Regions from separate parts of the Homo sapiens genome. Here region 1 is linked to region 2. The links are contacts of gene promoters, found by promoter capture Hi-C in blood cells and fetal thymus (Javierre and others, 2016). All regions are on one chromosome and are shown on one strand. The core of a region is centred on a gene start or on the middle of the fragment in contact, and the rest is flanking DNA. Distances in the headings are between cores, read along the strand shown.

The links. Contacts are between HindIII fragments. The CHiCAGO score rates a contact against its expected background, and 5 or more counts as called.
Region 1: a contact is called between a fragment that was not itself captured here and the fragment with the promoter of PSMD6-AS1 in region 2, in 2 of 17 cell types (megakaryocytes and naive CD4 T cells). The highest score is 7.2, in megakaryocytes.

Annotation. Positions count from the first base shown.
Region 1 is chr3:64,356,850-64,364,158 of GRCh38, forward strand. No RefSeq gene overlaps it. Among named protein-coding and RNA genes, the nearest start is that of PRICKLE2-DT, 85 kb to the right of the region's middle. The HindIII fragment of the contact is 2,037 bases long and covers 646-2,682 here.
Region 2 is chr3:64,005,549-64,013,407 of GRCh38, forward strand. It overlaps PSMD6-AS1 (PSMD6 antisense RNA 1), which reads left to right and starts at 6,416. Exons shown (of 2, transcript NR_189168.1): 1 at 6,416-6,494. It overlaps PSMD6 (proteasome 26S subunit, non-ATPase 6), which reads right to left. Exons shown (of 8, transcript NM_014814.3): 7 at 5,330-5,407; 8 at 5,003-5,216. The coding sequence ends at 5,120. PSMD6-AS2 (PSMD6 antisense RNA 2) reads left to right here. Exons shown (of 3, transcript NR_038286.1): 1 at 1-520; 2 at 4,149-4,205; 3 at 6,249-6,695. The HindIII fragment of the contact is 1,623 bases long and covers 5,520-7,142 here.

The DNA.
Region 1 (7,309 bases), core at 414-2,913, 350 kb after region 2:
TGCCAATTTCTAAACATTAGCAACTGACTCCATTCTTTAAGAAAATTTCTATGGGTCAAACAAACACATTTGCAGGAGTATTGTTGTCTGTAACCGCCATTTTGGTACCATTGTTTGAGTTAACCAAGGCTTAGGTATTTTGTGAATTCCATTGATTCTGGTAGGAAAACAGTAGAGAGAAAGAATACAGATGACGATTCAATACACAGATCTTAGAGTACACTAGAGCTGGACTCTACTCTTGGCTCTAACACTTACTAGTGATGTGACTTTCCAAGACTTCTTCACCTCTTTAGAGCTCCATAATATGGGTATAATGATATACCTACCTCACAGGACCTCTGAGAGGATGAATGTTGACAAGGCATGACATTTAATTTACCATAGTCCATGTTGTAAATATCCTTATTTTGACCTCCAACTATTTGTGGAGCTATTAAAACCTCTTGCAAATATCTAAAAAAAGATCATCTTGAGGTGACTCTGCTTATTCAGGCACCCAACCACAGTTCATGGAAGTCTTACTTATACCAGAAGAAACATGTTAACTCCAGGGCTACTGGCAGAATAAGGCTTGTTTCCTTCTCTTGCAAAGTTGAGAAGATCTCCAGATAACTCATATTGGGCCACAAAATCACTGGAAGAAGCTTGAAGATCACTTTCCAAACCCTTTACATTATAGATGAGAAAACTGAGGCCAAAGCAGCTGAGGGTCACCCAAGGTTAGAACAAGGCCCACATCCCAAATGCACATTTACAGAAACAAGCTCTTTTCATGTGACAGTGATTTCCCCAGGTCCCAGCCAGGTGACATCTACAATCTACAAAATCATGAACTCACCTAACTTTCAGTTTCCAAACCATACTTGTCCAGCAGATCCAAAACAACCACCTGAAACCAGGGTGTGACATTGACAGTTCACTGGAAAAGCACTTTCTTGTTTTTGTCTGTCCATTTTCTTCCCTCTCTTCCTCTCTCTTTCCCCCCAACCCCTTCTTTCTCTCTTTCTCCTTGTCTCCTGCCCTCTCTCTCTCCTTCTTTTCCATCCTTCCTTCCTCTGTTCTTCCCTTGTTTTAAAAATATGTGACCTCACTCCCCAATATAAAACTCATGTGCATAGCCAGTTTTAGCAAATTTGGGGTGTGTGTGTGTGTGTGTGTGTGTGTGTGTGTGTGTGTATACTCACCATGTTTGGAAAATGAATTCCTAGAAATAGAAGGGCTAACTAAGCCACTTATACGGGATCCTTATAGCCCAGGACTTATGGAGATAAAGTTCTGCATCAGCACGCTGGCAACCCTCCTCTGTGTATTCTAAGCCCTCAAAGCCATGTCATTTCTCTAGCTATATTTTCTCATACCCTCCACTTACTTTTCTACACAATGGTTAGTTAATTCTTCCAGCTGTGATGTTTGTGGTGCCCGCAGGATGCTAGGTGACTTGCACCACAGCCCTATCACCACAGCCCTATCACCAGTTGATTTTCATGCTGTTTTCCTGGCCACTTCCTAAAGAGCAGTTTCCTGTGAATTTTGCATTTTTTACATCTATTGTTTATAGATTTCCTTGGCATCTTCACGGCACCTTTAGCACCATTTTTTGCGGCCCTTTCCTGATATCACAGGGCCATAGTGTCATGAGACCATGCAGTAATGGCAGGGGAGAAGGATGGAGAAGTCACAGACTGACAGCATATTCGTACTGTGGAAAGCATAGAAGGGCTGTGCTGAATGCTTATAATTTTATGTTGCCTTGGCATCCATTCTAAATATAAGTTTAACTCTCTCATGCCAGAGACAGAGCTCAGTGTCACTTTTGACAGTTTCCAGTTCTATACCACACCCAAATGGCTCAAGCCAGGAGCCAGAGGTAAGAACTTAGCAGAGATAAGAACTTAGCCCACCTAGCAGACTGGGCTTCCAGCTTTCCCTGCAATTTCCCTTACATGAACCATTTAGGCATGTGCCTGTGAACTTAAAGTGACCCACATCTATTCCCAAATATGTATAGATGGTTGCCACATTGTCTTCTGTCTCCCTGCCTGGGCTCCCTGAACTCCCTGTGTGTGGCGGCCTCCAGGCTTGCTGTGTGCCACCAGGGTCTGTAAGTAATAAAACCTCTTAAACTTTCACATTGCAATTGTGTCATTGAAGCCCTGCAGCCATCAGATCCCCGAGCCCCACCCTGACAGTGAGGCCACCTACAGGGACCCATGCAGGTGGATCTCCTGCTGGTGCACTTTTGTCCAGGCTGCTGGGGATGGTTGCTACCAGCTAAGTCGATAGAGAAACCCAGAGTTTCATTCAAAACAAGGACACGTTAGTCCTCATCAGCTGAAAGACACTCCACTGAGCAGTCATGAGAAAGCAACTCTCAGTGCTGTAATCAATCAATGAACATATAAAAACTAAAATACTTCTAACACAAATAGAGCTACAATAAATCAATGCTGATACATCATTGGCATTTAATCAATATTAATTTTTGAAAAACTGCTGAATAGAGCAGAGTTAAACAAACTAAGTATGCAAGAAATTTTAAAAAAAGGTGGGGGTGGGGAGAGTTTCCACCACCCAGACACAACCATCATTAGAATTTTGGCATATTTTCTTCCTGTATTTTTTAAATGTTTTTAAAATAATAGGAACAAATATACAATTTTCATTTATCAATATATCATAAGCTTTCCCCATTTCATAAAACTCTTTGTAAACATCATTGTTAATCGCTAAATTATTTTGATTAATACTCCAGTCCCCTATTGCTAGACCATTTCATAACCTCACTGCTAAATATTTTTGTTATTTCCAATTCATAATTATGAAAAAATAGCATTGCTATAAATACCTAAGTGATACAGTTTTTTTTTCTTTTTTTTCTTTTTCCTCTTTTTGGATTATTTCCTTATCAAGAATTCCTGGAAATGACAATGTGGAGTCAAAGGGCATGAATATTTTTCAGGTTTTTGATAATGCCTTGCCAGAAATTTTGAACCAATATATACACTCAACATCAAATGTATGAAACTGTCTACTGCCTGTACCTCATCAGCACCGGGCATTGTGGTTACCAAATAAAAAACAAACAAATCTCCCTCCCCGCAAAAGCCTTTGCTGACTTAACAGGTAAAACGGCACCTCACTCTTTCTTGAATCTGCACTGCACTTACTGCTCAAGAGCTGAACTTTTCATATCCCTATCTACATGTGGATTCCGCTTCTCTACATTTTCTTTCTGTTCATGTTCTTTGCCTATCTGGAAGGCACTTTGAAAGCAAACAACCATCATTTATGAAAAAGAGAATAGGTTCTGCTCCCACCTTTTAATCTTTAATTTTTTTTTAAACTTCATCTTTTTACTGCTAACCTAGCACTAACAAGTGAACTTTAATGCCAGATAATCCACTCCCATCTACGGAAGAGACACTTGGTTCTTCCTCCCCAGGTTAGAATACAATTATTGCTGGACTGCTCCTCCTCTGCCCTGGCATCCTTCTCATCCCTTAGTACCCAGAGTCCACAGAGGCCAGCAGGAGAAGAAAGCTGCAAGGGCTCAGAAGGTGACGGAAACTCAATTCCCACAAGAGGCACCACTGAGAACCACCTCCAACAACAGCTTTCAATTAGAGAGAAAATTAGAGATCTGTCAAAACCGATCTCAGCATCCATCACTTCCCGTAATCTGCTTCCCAAGATGCATGGAGACTGGTGCTGCCAGACGCTGGCCCCCGCCATGCTGATTTGCCCACTGAGCAAGACGCCTCAGGAAGCTGCTCATGAAACAGAATGGAAACACAGCACTCAGGAGCTCAGTGGCCTGAGGAAACAGCCGCCTGTCAATTCTATAAGTCAGTGATAGGCTTCCCGAAAAATTTTTGTGTGTGTGTTTTTTTTTAAAGGAGCAACGTATTTATAAACTTGTCCACGAACTATTATTGTAAATGGGTAAGAAATGTGTACATGTGTGAAGAGAAACAGGAAAAGAAAATGGAAAAATATATTTGGCATATGACCATGTAACATGACATCTAAGTAAAAGCACTAAAGAGAATTTATGTATTAAAATAGTCAAGGTCATTAAGCAAACAGCACAGTAATAGGTGTTGCAAGCAAAAATCATTAATGGAGGCTAAATTGGGTGGGCAGAAGTATGATGAGAAACATGATACTTGCAAAGTCTTAAAAGTGTCTCCCCACAAGATACTTATTACAAAGAGAAAAAGAGTTTTGCAGTGGAGGAGCCTAGTAGACAGTACCTTAAATGAGTGATCAAAGTAAGCATAACCAGTAATGTCACCATATCGCCTACCCCCAACATGCTGCACTGAGAAGGGCACAGCATCGCTTCTGTGGTCTTGTCAAAAAAGCCAACCTCAGGTCAGGCATGGTGGCTCATGCCTGTAATCCCAGCACTTTGAGAGGCTGAGGCGGGTGGATCATTTGAGGTCAGGAGTTTGAGACCAGCCTGGCCAACAGGGTGAAACCCCATCTCTACTAGAAATACAATAATTAGCCATGTGTGGTGACACATGTATGTAATCCCAGCCATTTGGGAGGCTGAGGTAGGAGAATCGCTTGAACCAAGGAGGCGGAGGTTACAGTGAGCCAAGATCGCACCACTGCACTCCAGCCTGGGTGACAGAGGCAGACCCTGTCTCAAACAAACAAAAAAAAAAGCCCACCTCAGTTTAATCAAGCAAACATATCAGAAAACTCAGATGGAAGGACACTCTAGGAAAGACAATGACAGGAACTGTGGCAGACTGGAGGACGAGACTAGAGGAGACAGGACAACTAAATGCAATGTGAGATCCTGGCTAGGATCCAGGATCAGGAAAAAACAACATGCATGGAAAAGCTGCTGAATTTTGAATAAGGTCTATAGTTTTGCTAATAGCACTGCATTAATGTTAATTTCCTAGTTTTGATATTGTACAATGATTTTGTAATATATTAACCCTAGGGGAAGCAGGGAGAAGGGTATGTAGGAGCTCTCAGTATTACCTTTGCAACTTTCTGAGAATTATTTCAAAATAAAAGTATTTACAGATTACTGAAGTTTAGTTATCTAAAAATAAATGTGAATAAAATATTTAATATTTTCTTCCCTCCTGCATTGAATCATTGGGTGTATGTGCATTGGAGATAAAAGGATGGGGTCAAGGATGGCTGGGGAAGATTACTAAGTCTCCTATGGATAGAAAGGTGAGCCAAGCCTTGAATGTGGACAGTCTAATTATGGAGCCTGACACATAAAGAAATGCATCACTTTAATAACTGAGGAGGGCTATTGGGCAAGTGATTACGGAATGGTAGAAACAATCCTGGATTTTGAGTCAAAGCCATGGATACAAACCCTCAAGTGTTGGCCCGAACACAATAAAGCTTTGAGATCTTGAGTCAGTCACTCAGTATCTATGGAAATGGACATAAACAAACTTTATTGCACACGACTATTGTGAGGATAAAGTGAACAGAGGTGTCTGAAAGCATTAGGTAAATGGGAGAGCCCTGCTATGACAAGGTTGTTAAAATTACCAAGATTAACAATAATATCCACGTAGCCAAAATAATACCGTAATTTCACTCCTAAGCTACAGCATCCTAGCATCTAATGGTACCCATCCCATATGGAAGCAAATCTGTCTTGCCTTCTGTCTGACCTTGGAGCCTGGGGCCACCAGTCTTCATGTGTGGTCAGTATTAAGCACCATCTGTCCTGAGTTAACACAACTCCTTCTAGTTTAAGCAATGAACACAGGCTGCAATGGCTAAAGCCTAAATAACTGCAATATGAAGAAAGGCTTTCCCACCCTGTTTGTCACTTTGGATGCATAGTGTTCACCTCCCAGGTGTTTACCCATCTAAATTGTGTGATGAAATGTCTTTTGAACACTTTTACAAGCAGTTAGATGCAATCAAGTTCTCTTCTTGCTTAAGACTCCTCAGCAAAGAAGATACTAAAAAAAAAAAAAAAAAAAAAAAACACAATAAGTGGCTGGGCTGCTTTGCAAATCTTTTCCTGCTGTACTTACTTCCTTGCAGTCATTCTACCTCTCCCCTCCCCTCCATAAAAAGCCCTAATGATTGTGACATTCATGATCTCTAGTGGGGTCGTTTTTCTCACTGCTCATCCGTATGATAATATGAGATGAAAAGGAAGCTGTATGTTAGGGCCATCTGTTGTTTAAATCTCTTCAAGATCCATTCACTCTTCTGGTAATAGTACCTAGGTTTTCCTCTGGGTGTCCGCCTGCCTCTTGCTCCCAGTCTCTGTGGGTAGCTCCCACAGCAGTACAAATTGAGCCAGAATTGGCCGATCAGCATAGTCCATCCATCCTCCTATGGTTAGAAAGTTCAGGGATGGGTATGTGCCTCACCTCAGAGCAAGGAAATCTCATGAGGCATGCAGGAGTGTCTGGAAATGGAAATCTCTCTTTTCCTGGGGTACTATGTTAACAGAATGTAAGCTTATGGCTGCTGAGGGCCCTCCTGCAAGCACAAGAAGGGGGCCTATCCCAAGAGAAGGTAAGACCAGGGACAGCAGGAGAGAGAGGAGAGAGAACCTCATGGGTGGGGAGAACTCTACTGAAATCATCATACCACCTGTGTGCAGGCCTAAAGCCAGTGCTACACCCACCCCACCTCCCCAGTCACTGACTGCTCAGTTAAATGAGCTGATATTCTTTTTTGCATCAGTCACTTTAAGTTTGGTTTCTGTCCCTTGTGACCTAAAGTGATCTGACTGTGAAACCAGGAAAATAAACATTAAACACTACCTTCTGTGAAAACGGAAGGTGCTACCAGCATACATCTGTAGTTTTTGTGGGGTCAGGCCTGGCTGCCCAGGGTGACCCACATCATCTCACACCCCTCACCTTAGGGTCATAGGAGGTAAGTATCATTTGCAACTAGCAGGTTTAAGGAGCCATCTGAAACAAGGGAATAGAGATTTTCTGGGTTGAGCTAGCTCATACCATATTCAGCCCCCCAAAACCCTGTCTAGCCTCACTTATCTTTTACTTCCCAAGTCTCTGACATTCCAGTCACCCAGGATGTCTTTCTTTTCCCTAATTCACAGTGCACTGCTTCATGCTGTCATGCTAATGCACTGGCTCTCAACTCCAAGTTCCAAGCCTAAGACCTCCAGTGGGAGGTTTCCCAGGACTTCTCCAGATGGAGTTGGTGGCCATTACTATGAAATCCCATAGCATCTTGTAAGGTCATACTGCAGCATTAGGTACAGGTGACCATGTGATGAGACAAATATTGATACACAAATGTTCCCACCCTTCCTCACCCTATGGAT
Region 2 (7,859 bases), core at 5,166-7,665:
GTCTTTCAGTTTTAGATCATCAGTGAGGTCATAAGGGTAGATGGAGTTTACCTGGGAAAATTAAGTAGCTATTCGATTTGGCTTATTATTATGTTAAAATAATACTTCTCTAGTGAAGTACTTAATATGCCAGATACTGTGCCAAGCATTTTATATACATCCTCTCTTTTACTAAGCCCTCATAGGGCAGGTATTTTGATTCCAATCATACTGATTGGAACTCCTAAGAAGGTATCTTGCTTAAGGTCCCACAACGAATAGGTGGCAGATCCAGGGTAATTCAGGTCTGTCAGAACAGTGATTCTTAATTTTTTCCCTCCTCAGACTCCAGGAGTCACATGAAGTTATGCATCCTGTCTGACCGAGGCACAGGCACACCACATTTTTATATTCCGCTTCCAGGATATCACAAACCTGAAGCCCATCCTCCATGGCCCAGAGAGAAAACCCAGGACAAAACCTTGGAGAAGACTATTTTCATGAAGACAAATGGAGAAGGAGCAGTAGAGTAAAAAGAGAGGTAAGGGAAGGCATTGAGATGGTTTACAGGGTTAGATGTTTTGAGTCAATCCCATTATAATTACCAATGCTATCTACCTATTTAGTTAACGTTTTATTGCCCTGCTGTTTTCTCCAGGATAATTGGAACAGCATGTATTGGTTGGGTGGAAAAGATAGAACTTGAGCAGGGAGATTGCCAAAGAGTGAAGATGTGGCTGAGTGATTGATGATGGTCTGAACTGGGTATTCAGGGAAGAGAACTAGAAGCCAACCATGTAGAATCTATGCAGGTGCTCTTAAGACATTGGTTTGACTGGAATTATCTTCTTGTTAGGTCTTAGGAATCTCCTTCCAGGTAACTTTTTCTATGATTAGACAATTGATTTGTTCAGGGTCACAGAGCAAAGTCCACATTTAATTCCACATGGCCAATAAAAGTGAGGGGCTACAAGGTGAGATCCAGGGGCCAGAGTTATCAAAGTGATACAGCACTTTTAGGAATAGGACAGGGAATGGAGGAATTGGAATTCCAGTATTACTTTCAAAAGCAGAACTGGCCAGAGGAATTGGAATTCCAGTATTATTTTCAAAAGCAGAACTGGCCAGAGGTGCTTGTGATTCCTGGGTGGAAACCATGGCAGTGGACAGAAGCAGCATGGAGGAAAAGAGCACTGGAATTCAGGCTGAGGAACTGTGAAGCCAAGGGTGTTGTATAGGTTGTCCATTTCAAATTAGGGTTGCTTGGTTCTGGGATGATTTGCATGGAAGAGGGGAGAGTGACTTGGAGATGTGTGATTGAGGACAGTGAGCACAGTGAGTTGATGGTGTTGCTGGGTTATAAGCAGCTTCAAAGAGAAGGCATTTTGAATGAAGGTGGAAACATAATGGCCAGGAGAACAAGCAAAGGACTAGGAAACAGTGAACTTCATCTTGGCCTCAAGTTCCTGAGGTGCATATGAATAAACAGTCTCTAACCCAGAGGGTTTCAAGAAAAGCAGAGTCCTCAAAATCCAAAGGTAGAGTTTCCCCACATTGATATTATACTAATTACACGTATAACAGTACTTTGGAAAAGCACAGGTCTCTGGTCACCTCTAAAAGGCAAGGTTGGTAAGGAGGTCAGGGTGTCACCTGTTGGTAGTCTTAACTAAATGGTCTCTTCAAGGGATCTAAGGATGGAAAGGGGATATATAATGGTTGGATTAAAGGCTCATCATTGATTAGCAAATTGTCCCTTTTGTTTCTTAAACCCAATTTGTACAGGGAAAGTTATGCCACTGTAAGATATTTTTAAATGGGGAAAAAAAAAAAAAAAAAAAAAAGGTTATACCCTTTGACCATGTATGTCAAGGTTAAAATGGCCTGGATCAGATTGCTACAAATTCCTGATAGCCTTTGTATTCCTTCAGAAACACAAGCATAATGCAAATCTGTGGCTCTACAGCTTTGAAACCAAAACTAGTGATTATCAGAGCTTTTCATGTTATCCAGATGGGGATTTTACCCCACTCCCCCATTGCCATTGTGGAGGCACAGGTTTGTTACCAGCAACTACAAGTTTATGTAGCATTGGGAAGGTCAGGGATTATCATAGTTCCCTCCACGCTTTTTCCCCCATAATCATGGGGGCAGATATTTCAGCTGTCAGCTGTTCATCTTAAAAACATTAGGTTAACAGCAGCACCAAGGACTAATTCAGAATATGAAATTACAGAAATGATTTGCTAATGATTTAGTAGCCTTTTATCAGTTAATGTTTGGTCAGGTTATAAAAGACCAAATGTGTTCAGTCACAAAATCCTAAGTGTATTGAGTATTGCATGCTTAGTGATCAAGTTGTAGGCATCCTTCTAGCCATCTGGGGCAGGTAAAAGTTGGGTGCTTAACAAAAGTGGTTTTTACACTGTTTCTGTCCTAAGAGACACTGTTTTTTAATAGCTTAAAAATTGACCTAAAGCTGTTATTTCTAATACAGGAAATAGATTACCATAATTTGACATAGCTTTAAAATATTTAGCTCTTACTCGATAGATTTGCTATAAAATCAACTTTTACTGAGGTAAGAGAAACTGGCATTTCTGCTTTAAAAATAATCACAAAAGATAGTTTATCCTGGCGATATCATTTCACACTAGGATAGTTACTTTTGACTGAAACCAGGGTTAAAAATAAGATTGTTTCCCACTTCAAAAGAAAACATTTACCAACATGAAAAAGGAACTATGTATAACTGTTTTAGCATCATTTCATAATCTTATTTTCATATTGTGAAGTAACCTTCTTGAATAAAAGCAGAAAATTAAGACTTTCAGAAAACAAGCTGTACCAGTTAAAGCTACTAGAGACAGGATAAAGGTTAGGAATTCTTTGGATAGTTTCTCCTAGCTCAAGCTTGTCCAACCCAGAGCCCACAACAGCTTTGAATGTGGCCCAACACACATTTGTAAGTTTTCTTAAAACATTATGAGCTGTTTTGTTTTGAGCTCATCAGCTATCCTTAGCGTATTTTGTGTCACCCAAGACAATTCTTCCAGTGTGGCCCAGGGAAGCCAAAAGATGGGACACCCCTGTCTTAGTTGATTAACACAGGAGGCTGTTAACCATCAACCTCACATGCACAATATTGGGGGTAGTGCAGGGATAACAAGCTCAAATGCCAGCAGGGGCCAGGCAGACAGGCAGTGTATATGAACAGACTGGGTGGACTGGGGCACACTGGAAAACACGCTATGCTTGTCGCTCAGCTTATTGGAGCGTGAGTCCAGATTTAGCTTCACCTGTCCTTTTTCCAGAGAAGCTAGATATGTGGTTTTTAAACTGTCAACTTTTACGTGGTAACTATAAATTTTTTTCTTGGAAAAGTATTTAGGGTGTGTCAATTGCCGCCTGTGGGTGAACAACTGCAACTCTGTAGCATTCAGAAGCCACCTTTGCATTCCTGACTAGCTTTGGTTTTCTGTAGAAAACCAAAAAGCTGAGGTTTTTTTCCTTTAAGAAATGTTTTCTAGATAAGCATTTTTAGAAATTCATAGGTGGATATTCTCAAATACATTAGGCATAGTCAGCATTTTAAAAGCCTCCCCTCCACAATACAGTGCCTACAGGAAACTCCTTTCAAAACAGAGATCTAGCCACATTGCTTTCCTTGGCATACAACCAATGGCTCTTCTTCCAGCGATGAGAGCTGCTGTCTTCACTTTTAAGATAATGCTTCTAATATTTTGCCATTAATTACCTTGTGATAGGGCTTTGATATCCCAACCTATTATTCATAGTCTACTGAAGAGTTTTTTTATCATGAAGAAATGTTGAATTATATCAAATTATTTTCAATCAAATGAGATCATGTTAACAGGAGTATGTTATTCCTGTTAGGAATTCCATATTAGGAATATGTTATTCCTAATATGTTAACAGGAATCATTCCCATCAGTAAATGTTATTTAAAGCAAAAAAACTCAAAACTCTTCTTTCCTTCCCTTGCCTTTTACAGTAAAATGCCATTTCCCATTCTCTTCTGAACTCACCTCTACCAAAACTGCTCATTAAGGTCACTAGCTGTCTTTCACTTAAGCCAAAAAGCCTAGGATCTCCTCTGACAAATTTTCTCCCCCTCATCCTCCTCACCCCATTCTTCAATCTTTTAGCAAATCCAGCTGCCTGTACAATCCATGCCACCGAATGCCGTAAGTGAGACGTAAAAGGTAAGCCAAATCCGCACTTAAAATTGCCAGTGACTTTCCTCGTCTTTCTTCCCTCCATACGTTCATGGGCTCTCCCTCCTTTTCACTTAAATGTCACCTTACCATAGAAGCCTTCCACAACACCTCAGAAGACGGCCTATACCCTGTATCTCTATCTATCTATCTATCTATCTGTCTGTCTATCTGGTTTTATACTTCTTATAGCACTTATTCCTATCTGACACACTGAATAAAACTGATAAAACTAATAAACTGTTTCAAACAAACAGAGGAACAACTTTGTTTTCCTCACTGCTATTATTACTATGGTCCTACTTTTGGAAAAAAGATTCAGTTTGCTAATAAATACTTACATATAAGGTTTTAGAAAACTGAGATCAGCCTTGGTAGATTCTGTAATCCAGGTTATGTCAGCTTCCTAAAAAAGAGTAACTTCCTGCCTTATATGGTTACTTGTTTCTGAGGGAAAGCTTATTACACATTTTCTTTATCTTCTATCTTTTGTATACTAAAAGTGGGAGACACTGTTTGTTTAATTTTAGGCCACTACTCTTCTTTCTAAAATCGGGAAGCTTACAGGTAAGAGATTTAAAGGTAAGCGATAATGGGCTGTGTCAACATCCGTATTTTACTGACGTATTTTACTGATGAGGCAGTCAGGAGCTGAACCTAGCTGAACCCAGCTGCAACCTTACCCTATAAACCAGATTTTCATTAATGAATAATTCAAGTGACATTATTTTAACATAAGTGGACCCGATTCTAGAAGGCCTATGTGTTTAAGAAAAAAATAAATGGAAAGAAACAACAATGCAGTATTTATTTTATACAGCTGACCTGGGCACATTGTGAAGTAAGCTATAAAAATTCCAAATAATTATCTCTAAAGCAAATCCTTTGTTAGTTACATGGCTTTACATATTAATTACTCTGGAAAGTTTTTGAACTCTGTTTAGTAGCAGATCTCCTTTCTTGATAGTTTCTTGGTACTGCCAGTTCTTGCTATCAGGTCTATAAATAAATTCAAGAAAAAATGAATTATTTACCAGTCACATTATTCCATGACAATAGTTGACCTACTTTTAAAATTTAGGAATGCCCCTTATTCTGAGAAATGAGAGTACCTGTTGGTTTCTACTATTTCATTCACTTTATCTATTTTGCAGTGTAGTCTCCCGGCAGCAATAAACCTGGACAGTTCCCTAATTTAGAGACAAAAAATAACAGAATTAGCTTTATAGAAAATTCTTAGAAAAATGCAAACGGCATTAAAATACTGTCTTAAATTTGTAACAAACATTTAGCTTCCCTTCAAGCTTGTTATTGCACATGCAGTAGTTGACGTTGTCCCTCCTATACTGCAGGCTTTAAGTCATCATCTACTAGAATAAACATGATCCTAGAAGTTCATATTCAGATAGATAGAAAGTAGATCAAACAATGAAACCATATGTACTCAGAGAAAAACTGTAGGTTAGGAAAAATTAGGGACCAAAACTGATAAAAACAGTAAACTGTTTCAAACAAAAGACCTAAAACAAAATTATGGAACACAGCCCATCAGTAAACATGTCAACAGCAATAGTATTAACATGTCAACAGCAATAGTATTTACTAAAACAACGACCCTTTCCCTCTCTAACATATCTTAGTCTAAACAAGTGGAAGGGAAGGGGAGAAATGATGTAGAATTATTGCTTTGCCCATTTTAAAAAAGGGGATTTCATCTAAAATGTAACTTTTTAAGGGAGAAAAAAAGAATAAAGAATCCATGACAACCCAGATTTGAAATTCTTAGGTATCACAGAAATTTAAAACAAGGCCTTTTTAGGTAACAACAACTAGAGCTCAGTGGTACAACCTTTGCCTCTCAAGCTGGTCTTAGAACATGAAGGGAAAAAAAAAAAACTGAACAAATACTACCTGAATTCAACTACTACCTGAAAGGTACCAGCTGCCTTGCATTCACTTGTCATCAAGATGACTTAAGGAATACTGCGGTGTGTGCCCCTAACTAATGAAGGCTTTATCTCCACATTACAGTTACGATACTGAAGAGACGTAACCTGACCAAGGCCACAGAGCTGGAAAAAGAAGCAAAGCCAAGCCGTTTTTCTCATGCACTGCTCACAACAAGCCCCTCCTTCCACTGACTCATGAAAAACACACTCATAATGCCCAGCCCGCACCCTAATGAACAGCCCTCTTAAGAGTGGTCATCAGACTTCAATTTCACAGACTAGAATTGAGAAATGGAACAAAACCTTGGGATACCAGCCTTCCATTTTGGTAGGGATCATTTAAAAAATGGTAGGGATCATTTAAAAAATGTGTTGGTGTCTGAAACTTACTTTGAAGTGGTTAAAAAACATAAAATGTATAGATTGTAACAAGCAAATATGTTAAAATGTACTGTACAATTCTTTCTTTACAATTTTATGGATGTTCGAAATTTAAAAAATACTAGAAAGAGAATGGTCTTATTTAAAAGAAATGCATCTTCATTTAAAGTTTCCACTGCAGACCATTGAAAACACCATCATCAACATTTAAAAACACCTACATGTGGGAGCCACTGATCTAGATGCCATCTGGACATCCCATATTGAGTATGTCTCCTACCCAACTCTACTCTCACCACCCTCGTCCACGCCACGGTAACATCTCCTCTAAGAGCTACTAAACAGCACAACTGGTCCTCTCTGCCACCTTACTCTATTTCTTATATAAAGACACTGCATAGGACCATGTAACTTGGGCTCTAAATCTTCCAATGGCTCCCTATCAAACTTACTTAAAACTCAAGCTCCATCCCATGACCTACAAGGCCCTACACAAATCATTACCTACCTAACTCTCCATATATTATCCTCAAAATCTCCTACCACTCCAACTATGCTGGAGCCACCCTGACATTTTCTGTTCCTACAACATCCAAGCTTATTCCTGGCTCAAAGCCTTAGCCTTTTCTATTCCCTTTTCTGCACGCAGAAGGACTCCATATGGCTGACTCCTCTCAATTCAAATCTCAGAGCAAACCTCACCTCCTTAAGCATGCCGTACGTAAGGATAGCATTTTCTCATCTCCATAGGTTCATTTCTATATGTGAAATTACGTTTTATATTTATTTGCTTCCTTGCCATCTCTTCCCTACTACTACAATGAAAGTGTGAAAAGGGAGCTGTAAAACAATACCAAACATATAGTAATGAATGGCTCATTAAGTATTTATTTGTTTAATCACTGATGCAAGTACTAAAAGTCCCACATTTAACAACCAATCTGACCAGAATTGCAGCAGCAACCTAAAAACTGGAAGGAATTATCAGAGGGAATATGACCAACTGTAAATATCAGATCTAAGAGTCATTACCGTAGCTGCAGTGTGGTCTACAAAGAAGTAACAGAAGACAACTTTTGATAACAACTGGTCTAATGACCTTTAACAAATCACTTAGCCTCACTACAACTCATCTTCCCATCTGTTAATGCAAGGGGCAGACATGACATGAGGAAGGCAGAGGCAACAGGATACGAATGTTTTGATAATACTGAGGAAAAAAACCTCTCCCCTCCCCGTTAAGATTGAGGGAACCAATGTAAACAAGTAAAAAATTGTACAAGTTCACATATTTTAAAAGGCAACTTTAAAA